Regions from separate parts of the Homo sapiens genome. Here region 1 is linked to region 2. Evidence: promoter capture Hi-C in 16 types of primary human blood cells and fetal thymus (Javierre and others, 2016). All regions are on one chromosome and are shown on one strand. The core of a region is centred on a gene start or on the middle of the fragment in contact, and the rest is flanking DNA. Distances in the headings are between cores, read along the strand shown.

What was found. The method cuts DNA at HindIII sites, captures the fragments that hold promoters and counts their contacts. A CHiCAGO score of 5 or more calls a contact.
Region 1: a contact is called between the fragment with the promoter of TNFRSF25 here and the fragment with the promoter of HES3 in region 2, in 2 of 17 cell types (activated CD4 T cells and naive CD4 T cells). The highest score is 7.7, in activated CD4 T cells.

Annotation. Positions count from the first base shown.
Region 1 is chr1:6,464,192-6,467,860 of GRCh38, forward strand. It overlaps TNFRSF25 (TNF receptor superfamily member 25), which reads right to left and starts at 1,982. Exons shown (of 10, transcript NM_003790.3): 1 at 1,878-1,982; 2 at 1,249-1,369; 3 at 897-1,031; 4 at 361-528; 5 at 184-262. The coding sequence starts at 1,916. It overlaps PLEKHG5 (pleckstrin homology and RhoGEF domain containing G5), which reads right to left. Exons shown (of 21, transcript NM_020631.6): 20 at 3,634-3,669; 21 at 2,931-3,381. The coding sequence ends at 3,372. RefSeq lists an enhancer at 1,803-2,751. The HindIII fragment of the contact is 14,059 bases long and covers 1-3,669 here.
Region 2 is chr1:6,241,910-6,245,798 of GRCh38, forward strand. HES3 (hes family bHLH transcription factor 3) reads left to right here and starts at 2,270. Exons shown (of 4, transcript NM_001024598.4): 1 at 2,270-2,332; 2 at 2,442-2,537; 3 at 2,639-2,720; 4 at 3,201-3,669. The coding sequence starts at 2,457. The coding sequence ends at 3,598. RefSeq lists an enhancer at 2,408-2,965 and silencers at 3,202-3,553, 3,397-3,556, 3,707-3,846. The HindIII fragment of the contact is 11,707 bases long and covers 1-3,889 here.

The DNA of each region.
Region 1 (3,669 bases), core at 732-3,231, 220 kb after region 2:
CGGATCCAGATTGCTCTTTTGCCATCTAAGTTTGCCTGAAGTGGGGCCCACCCATCACAGGGCCAAGGCTCCCTCCTCCCTATCCCCTCTTCCTATTCCTGAACCAGCAGCACCTGCCCCACCCCAGGCCCCTGCTCTGCTCCCAGCCGCCCTTCCCTCCATCCCACGACAGCTAGGAATTACGTGGGGCAGGACACGCAGCCATCGCCATGTTCATAGAAGCCAGGCAGGCAGGTCCCACAGTCAGTATCTCTGCGGGAACCTGCAATCCAGGAGAGGCATGCGTCACCATGGGACAGGAGTGGGTCAGGCAGGGAGAAGGGGGTCTGGGAGTAGAGAGCCCTGGGTGGGGGTACTCACAGAGTAGCCGTGTGTGGCGGTGCAGGGCCCCGCAGTCTAGGCATGGTTGGCAGTAGAAGGGTGAACTGCTGACACATTGGCTGACCTGGCACTCCACAAACCAGCCTGGCTTACAGCCACAGCGGGTGTCGGCCACTGCTGAACAGTTCTCCAGCGCCACCTGGGAGGCTGGTGGGGGTGCAGGGAGATGGGGAGTGGAGAGTTAGTCAGGGCCAAAGGCTCCCATGGAGAGGCAGAGGCATTATCCCAAGATAATGGAGACAGAAATAGGCGAAAGACAGACAGGTACAGGGCTACCCTAAAAAAGAGAGAAGCTCAGAGATTAAGGCCGACCAGAGGCCAAGGCACATGGAGAGATGGGAAGGTCACCAGGAAGAGAGAAGGGGCAAGGGCACCCTGAAGGAGGATCAGGGTGGAGGGTTCTGGCAAGGGTGGGTGCAGGACCCTCACACCCCAAGTTTGGGCCCGAGCCAGCCACTTCCTTCAGAAAGGCCTGTCCTTAGGAACTCCCTGCCAAGCACTGAGAAGCCCCTCACCCTGCTCATCACAGGCCTGGCAGCGGGCACATTCAGAATTATGGTGGTTCTCCCAGGCCAAGAAGGTGTCTTGGGGACACACAAGGCAGGTGGAGTTGCCGCAGGGCTCCGTGCAAGGGGCCTTCAGGTAGTGCCCTGTGGAACCAGGCAGGGGTCAGGCAGGCAGAGGGGCTGCCCAGCAACCCCCGACCTGCTTCCCACCCTGCCCTCCCTCCCTCTTTCTCTCCAGCTCCCTACTTCTCTGTCAGCCTACCCCTACCTCCCCTGCCAGCCTCCTCTTACCTCCCGGGCCTGCCCGCCACCTCTCCAGCCCTGCCTGCCCCATGCCTCTCCCACCCCTGTGGCCACTTACCCGCTGGGCAGCCTCTGCAACAAAACAGACCAATCTTCTTGTGGAAGTCACCGGCACAGTCACACCTGGGGCTACGAGTGCCGCCCTGGGCCCGGGCCCCCAGCAGCACCAGGAGGAGCGCCTGGGGGACAGGTGCTGCTGACTCTCAGCGCAGCTGCCCACGTGGGGCCTCTCCCTGCTGCGTCTCCTCCATTTCAGAGGCCCCAGCATTTGCCCACAGAGCAGCCCACTTCCCAGGCCCCGGGCAGAAGGGGTGCCCATGGGTGGAGAGGAAACTAACTTCCTTCCCCCCGCGCACACACCAGGCTTCGGAGGGGGCGCTTACCAGCCCCTCACAAGTTTCCCCTCCACCAGAGCAGGAATCCAGCAGCGCCCCCACCCCCACCCATGCTTTCTGTTGGGGGAGGGACACTGATAATGCTCTGCCTGGGGCCCCCAGACCCTCCTGGGAGGGGTTTCCTCTCAGTGGAAGGGCTACGCCCTGGAGGAGCCTTTAACGAGATCGGAAAGGGCGGCCAACCCAGCCCCCAGTGAGGCTTGGAGTGGAGACGCGCCCGGGGCCCCTTCCTTCACCGAGGCTCTTGGGACAGGGCTCAAAGCTGCCCCTAGCCTCCTGCGTCTCAACTCACCGCCGCCACCGCCGCGCAGCCCCGCGGCCGCTGCTCCATAGCCCTCCGACGGGCGCCCAGGGGCTTCCCGGCTCCGTGCTCTCTGCCCGTCGTGGTTCCGCCTTCAGCCCCGCGCCCGCAGGGCCCGCCCCGCGCCGTCGAGAAGGGCCCGCCTGGCGGGCGGGGGGAGGCGGGGCCGCCCGAGCCCAACCGAGTCCGACCAGGTGCCCCCTCTGCTCGGCCTAGACCTGAGCTCATTAGGCGGCAGCGGACAGGCCAAGTAGAACACGCGAAGCGCTGGGCTGCCTGCTGCGACCAGGGGCACAGGATAGAGCTGCATCTCGGTCCCCACCCCGACTCTCGCCCCAACCCTGAGAACCACTTCAAGGTAGAGCCAGGGCAAGTGACTTCTCTCTCGGCCTCCGCGTCCCCAGCCATGGAGGAGGTTGGGCCAAAAGTACCGCAAGGGGCCAAGCGCAGTAGCTCAGGCCTGTAATTCTAGCACTATGGGAGGCAGAGGCGGGCGGAACACTTGGGGTCAGGAGTTCGAGACCAGCCTGACCAATATGGTGAAATGCCGTCTCTACTTAAAATACAAAAACTAGCCCGGCGTGGTGGTGCACACCTGCAGTTCCAGCTACTAGAGTGGCTGGGGCAGGAGAATCGTTTGAACCCGGGAGGCAGAGGTTGCAGTGAGCCGACATCACACCACTGCACTCCAACCTAGGTGACAGAGTGAGACTCTGTATTAAAAAAAAAAAAAAAGTTCCTGAAGGGACCCCCATGGAGGACCCACCTTCCCAAGAGGGCTGGCCTGAGTGTGGGAACTGGGCAGATTCAGCCCTGAATCCCCGGGGGGCACCTGGGGAGAGGCTCTGATGGTGGCTGAAGGTGGGGAAGTCTGGGGGTGTTGGTCTGGTGGCACCCCACACCCCATTACTTCCCAGTGCTTCCCATGGCAAGCTCCATCCGTGGCCCATCCGTGGCAAGTGGAGGAGCACAGGAACACAAGGAGGCCGCCCTGAACTCAAGTGCCCCGAGTCACTGGGCCCCAAAGCAAAGGACTCTTCCCAGTGGAGTCTAGACAAGTCTTTATAAAAGAACCAAAAGCTCAATAAATACGTAACTTCACAGAACCCAGCCCAAGCCAGGGGTGGCCTGTGGGACTGGGAAGGTGGGGGCAGGGCAGGAGTGAATCCCACTGGAGGCCAGTGAGGGTAGAAGTAGGATGGGCAGCCTAGGAGCCCAGCCCTGAAGACTCGAGCTGAGCTGGTAACTTCGGGGAGTAGGTGACGAGGGGCTGCCTGGGCAGGTGGGGTGGTACTGTGGCCTGGGCCTCCTCCACTCCATCCAGTCCGGCAAAGCGCAAATCGGGCCCGGGCGTAGGCAGGGATCCTGCCCAGCATCCGGCTCATGCATACAGGAGGCAGTAGCTGAAGCAGGTGCCGGCACGCCCCAGGAGGCAGGCTGTCTGCTGTCTCTTGGTCAATGGCACTCTTGGGGGCCTCCCTCTGCTCAGACCTCCCTACAGGGTGGGGAGGGGACAGAGTCCTTCTTTGGCTGACGCCATTCAGAGTGGCTCTGGTCACCCTCTCTTCCCCACGGCACTCCTCAGGCCCCTTCACTGCTGCCCACCACAGCCCCCTGCGCCCAGACACTGGGCAGGGTTCAGGCTCCCTCCGCCATGACCCTCCCCAAATGCGATGCTCCCAGGCATGAGTGGGCCCCCATGCCAGTGCCCTGAGCCACCTGCCCTACCCCAGTCCAGGCCACTCACGAGGCAGTGAGCGTGGAGTTAAGCAGCAGGGTGGTC
Region 2 (3,889 bases), core at 1,020-3,519:
AGAACATTGCGAATTAGAGCATTTTGCGGTCAATTTTCCACTGCTTAAGAAACACTAAGCTATCCACGTGAGCGTCCCCCCGCCCCCGGCCCGATGCGCCTGGAATCCCAGGGGACGGGCTTGGGAGGGGTGGTGGCCCTGGGAACGGCGGGTGTCGGGGTTCGGGCGGGGGCAGCCTCGTGGCCCCTTTATGGCGGCCCGGACTCAGGAGAGGGGGCGGGCCCGGCACCCAGCGGCGGGCCGCGAGAGCTGCGCGGAGGGCCATTGGTTTGCTAATGCCCTCGAGTTGAAAGGCGCGGGCGGCGGTTTATAGGGAAGGATTGTAATTAGAGGACAAATTGCCCCGCTGCCCCGCAGCTCGAGAACGCGGGGAGGGGGAGGCCCGCCGGGGCGCGACGCGCGCCAGGCCTCTGTGCAGATGTGCAGCAGCTGGAAGTCCGCGCCTGGCGGGGCGCCCGGAGTTTGGCCCCGAGGGGGCGGGGGCGGGCGCGGGCGCCGCTTTGTGGGGCCCGCACAATGCCCTTAACACTCGGCTGCCCCTTTTGTGCCCGGCCGCGCCGCCCGCCCGCCCCGCGGTGCCTTTATACCGCGCCGCCACCGCCCCAAGCTCGGAGCGAGTCGCATGGAGGACGCCCCGGCCCGGCCGGTCCTGGCGCTTCAAAGCTGCCCGGCGCGTGCCAGCGCCCGCCGCCTGGTCTCGGCCCCCGCCGCCCTCCCAGGCCCGGGTCGGCCCGGATCTGGCCCGCGGGCCCTGCGGTCCGGGCTGGACAGAGCCCCAGAGCTGCTGTTGCCGCTGCCTCGGCCTGAAAGGGGGAGGGCGTGGCGCGATTCTCCACGCTGCTTGGCGCCTGGGAACGCCGCTATCCTGGGAAGGGTAGGCGGGGGCGGGCTGGGGGGAGATGCCCTGGCTTGATAGAGCTGGGGGGCGCACCCCACCCTGAGTCCCTACACAGAAGCCGGTTTGTTCATTCCTCTGCCACAGGGCTCAGCTGCAGAATTTTTGCGACTTCCCTGTCACCCTCAGAAGCAATGGGGGCTGCATTGTTCAGAATATAATTTTACAAGCCCCAAAAACTAAAGCCATGAGGGCCCATGGGAGGTGTCTAGGTTTGAACCCAGGGACTTCCTGGAGGTCAGCCTTCCTGTCCATCACAGCAGCTACAGTTCAGCCTCCTGGAGTCCAACCAGGGGGATGGCCCCAGAGCCTTGCTGTAGGCCTAGCCCATCCTGGGGCAAGTGCTCCAGGCGCCTCCTCCACTGGGTCCGCCGTAGTCTGAATCATAGATTGGGGTGCGGGCCCTGGATCTCTCGAAGTGTGGCCTGGAGCTCTTCCCAGAATGTCAGTGGTCTCCTGCCACCACCACCTGTGCGTGGAGCTGAGAGCAGGCTCATGGGAGTAGACTTCTAGTGCTTCTCCATGGGGACAGGGTCTACCACCAAAGCCACCCAGCCTGGAAGCCCAGGGCTGTAAGGAAGGGAGAGGCAGCCGTGTTCACCCCACCTGCCTCCTGTGGGAAGTCCGCGTTGGATCCTAGCAGTGTCAGAGAACACAGGACCCAGGCTGCACCCTCACCAGGACCCCTCCCAATCCCAAGGCCCCAGCAAGGATGAGGCTGGCTGTGGCCCCGCGGGTGGGCTGCATGCTTTAATGGGACACAGGCTGCTGCATGGCCCCCGCGGGCTCAGCTTGTGCCTGGCTTTGAGCAGCCACAGGCAGAAAATTGCTGCATTGTCCCGACATTAGGGCAACTAATGCGGCGTTGCGGGTATAACCAGAGCATGAAGTGCATAAAGAGGCGTCGCCTTGGCATCTTCATCAGTCCCGAGGGAGCCCAGAGCCCTGTCATAGTCAGTGAGGCAGCCTGTGGCCAGCTGGCCCATGTACCTCCCCAGTAGGTGACCCCTGGAATGCTTGCACTCCAGGGTATCAAGGACTTGGCAAGTGGGACTGGAGAACTTACGGGGATTGGGACAGGATGGGCATGGAGGGGGTGGGCATGGCAGGGGTCCTCAGACTGGGGAAGTGGTGGAGGCCAGAGAGATAAGGAAAAGACAGATAAAGGGGAGGGGGGGGTCCCTCGGGAGACAGGGGGGGTCCTGAAGGTGAGAGGAAGCCTAGGCTATGGGAGGGGGCTGAGGGAAGGAGGTGGGGAGCTTCCCAGTGCGTCCTCCCTCGGTCCCCTCCTCCTCAAGGTTTCTAGAGTCCAGAGGGCCTCATTGACATGTAAACGAGGGTCCCTATAAAGGCGGCGCTGCCTCGCACTGGTGCATGGACTGCAACATGGGCACGGAGCCTGCTGCCCGGGGCAGCCTCCCCGGCAACTTCCGAAAGGTCTGGGGTCTTGAGGGACTAGGGGCAGGCACCCTTCCCCGGGAGGTGTGGGGGGGTGCCGAGGGCAGGAGGGTGGCAGTCCTGCACTCTAAAGGCTGTTCATCTGCAGATTTCCAAGCCGCTGATGGAGAAAAAGCGCCGGGCACGCATCAATGTGTCACTGGAGCAGCTCAAGTCGCTGCTGGAGAAACACTACTCGCACCAGGTGAGACTCAGGCGGGGTGGGGGTGGGTGGGTGATACGATCCCAACCTCCCTCTCTCCACCTCGGGAGGCCGGTCTAATAGACCTTTCCATGGTCGGGTAGATCCGGAAGCGCAAATTGGAGAAGGCCGACATCCTGGAGTTGAGCGTGAAGTACATGAGAAGCCTTCAGAACTCCTTGCAAGGTATAGGGGAGGGCTGGAGGGAGGAGGGGGAGGCTTGTGGGATCAGAGCCAGGGATGCACAAGGCCAAATAAAGAGGGATACCTCAAGGACCGCTTGACCCCGGGCTTTTGAGACCAGCCTGGGCAACATGGCAAGACAGCAAATATAAAGAGGACAACTCGGAGGCAGGTGCAGTTGGTGAGGAGGGGGCCCCAGCTCGCTAGGGGGCGAGGGAGGAGCAGTAAAGCCCGGGCTGGCTGTGCGATTGCAATCTGGGTGGTAGGTCTGGACCCCGGGGGAGACGTTCGGGTCGTCTGACCTCCGCCCTCCTCTTCCCTTCCTCAACACGCTTCCTCCCTCCTTTCCCCTCCACCTCCACTCCCCTCTCCTCCCTCCCTTCCTCCCCTCCCCTCCCTCCCCCTTCCCCTCCTCTCCCTCCCCCTCCCCTTCCCCTTCCCTCTCTTCCCCTCCCTGTTTCTCGCGTCCGCTCTTCCCCACAGGGCTCTGGCCTGTGCCCAGGGGAGCCGAGCAACCGTCGGGCTTCCGCAGCTGCCTGCCCGGCGTGAGCCAGCTCCTTCGGCGCGGAGATGAGGTCGGCAGCGGCCTGCGCTGCCCCCTGGTGCCCGAGAGCGCCGCCGGCAGCACCATGGACAGCGCCGGGTTGGGCCAGGAGGCGCCCGCGCTGTTCCGCCCTTGCACCCCTGCCGTCTGGGCTCCTGCTCCGGCCGCCGGCGGCCCGCGGTCCCCACCACCCCTGCTCCTCCTCCCCGAAAGTCTCCCTGGCTCGTCCGCCAGCGTCCCCCCGCCGCAGCCAGCGTCGAGTCGCTGCGCCGAGAGTCCCGGGCTGGGCCTGCGCGTGTGGCGGCCCTGGGGAAGCCCCGGGGATGACCTGAACTGAAGGCGCTCCCTATTTGGTCTCGCGACACAGGGACTATTTTCAGCACGCCCACAGTGACTGCCAGGACCCCCCAGTCGTCCGTTCTGGTCGTGGGGCGGGGGTGGCTTGGAGAGGGCCGCGCACCCCGCAAGCGCAGGGAAATACCCCCAGCCCTGCCGGACTGGGTCTGCGCGTCTGGGCATAATCCACCCCCACTCTAGCTCCACCTACACACGCCGGACCGCTCGCTCTCCGCCCATCCTCCGGAGGGGCTGGGAGGGGGTGTCCTGGGCTGCGCCCCTTTCCCAGGGA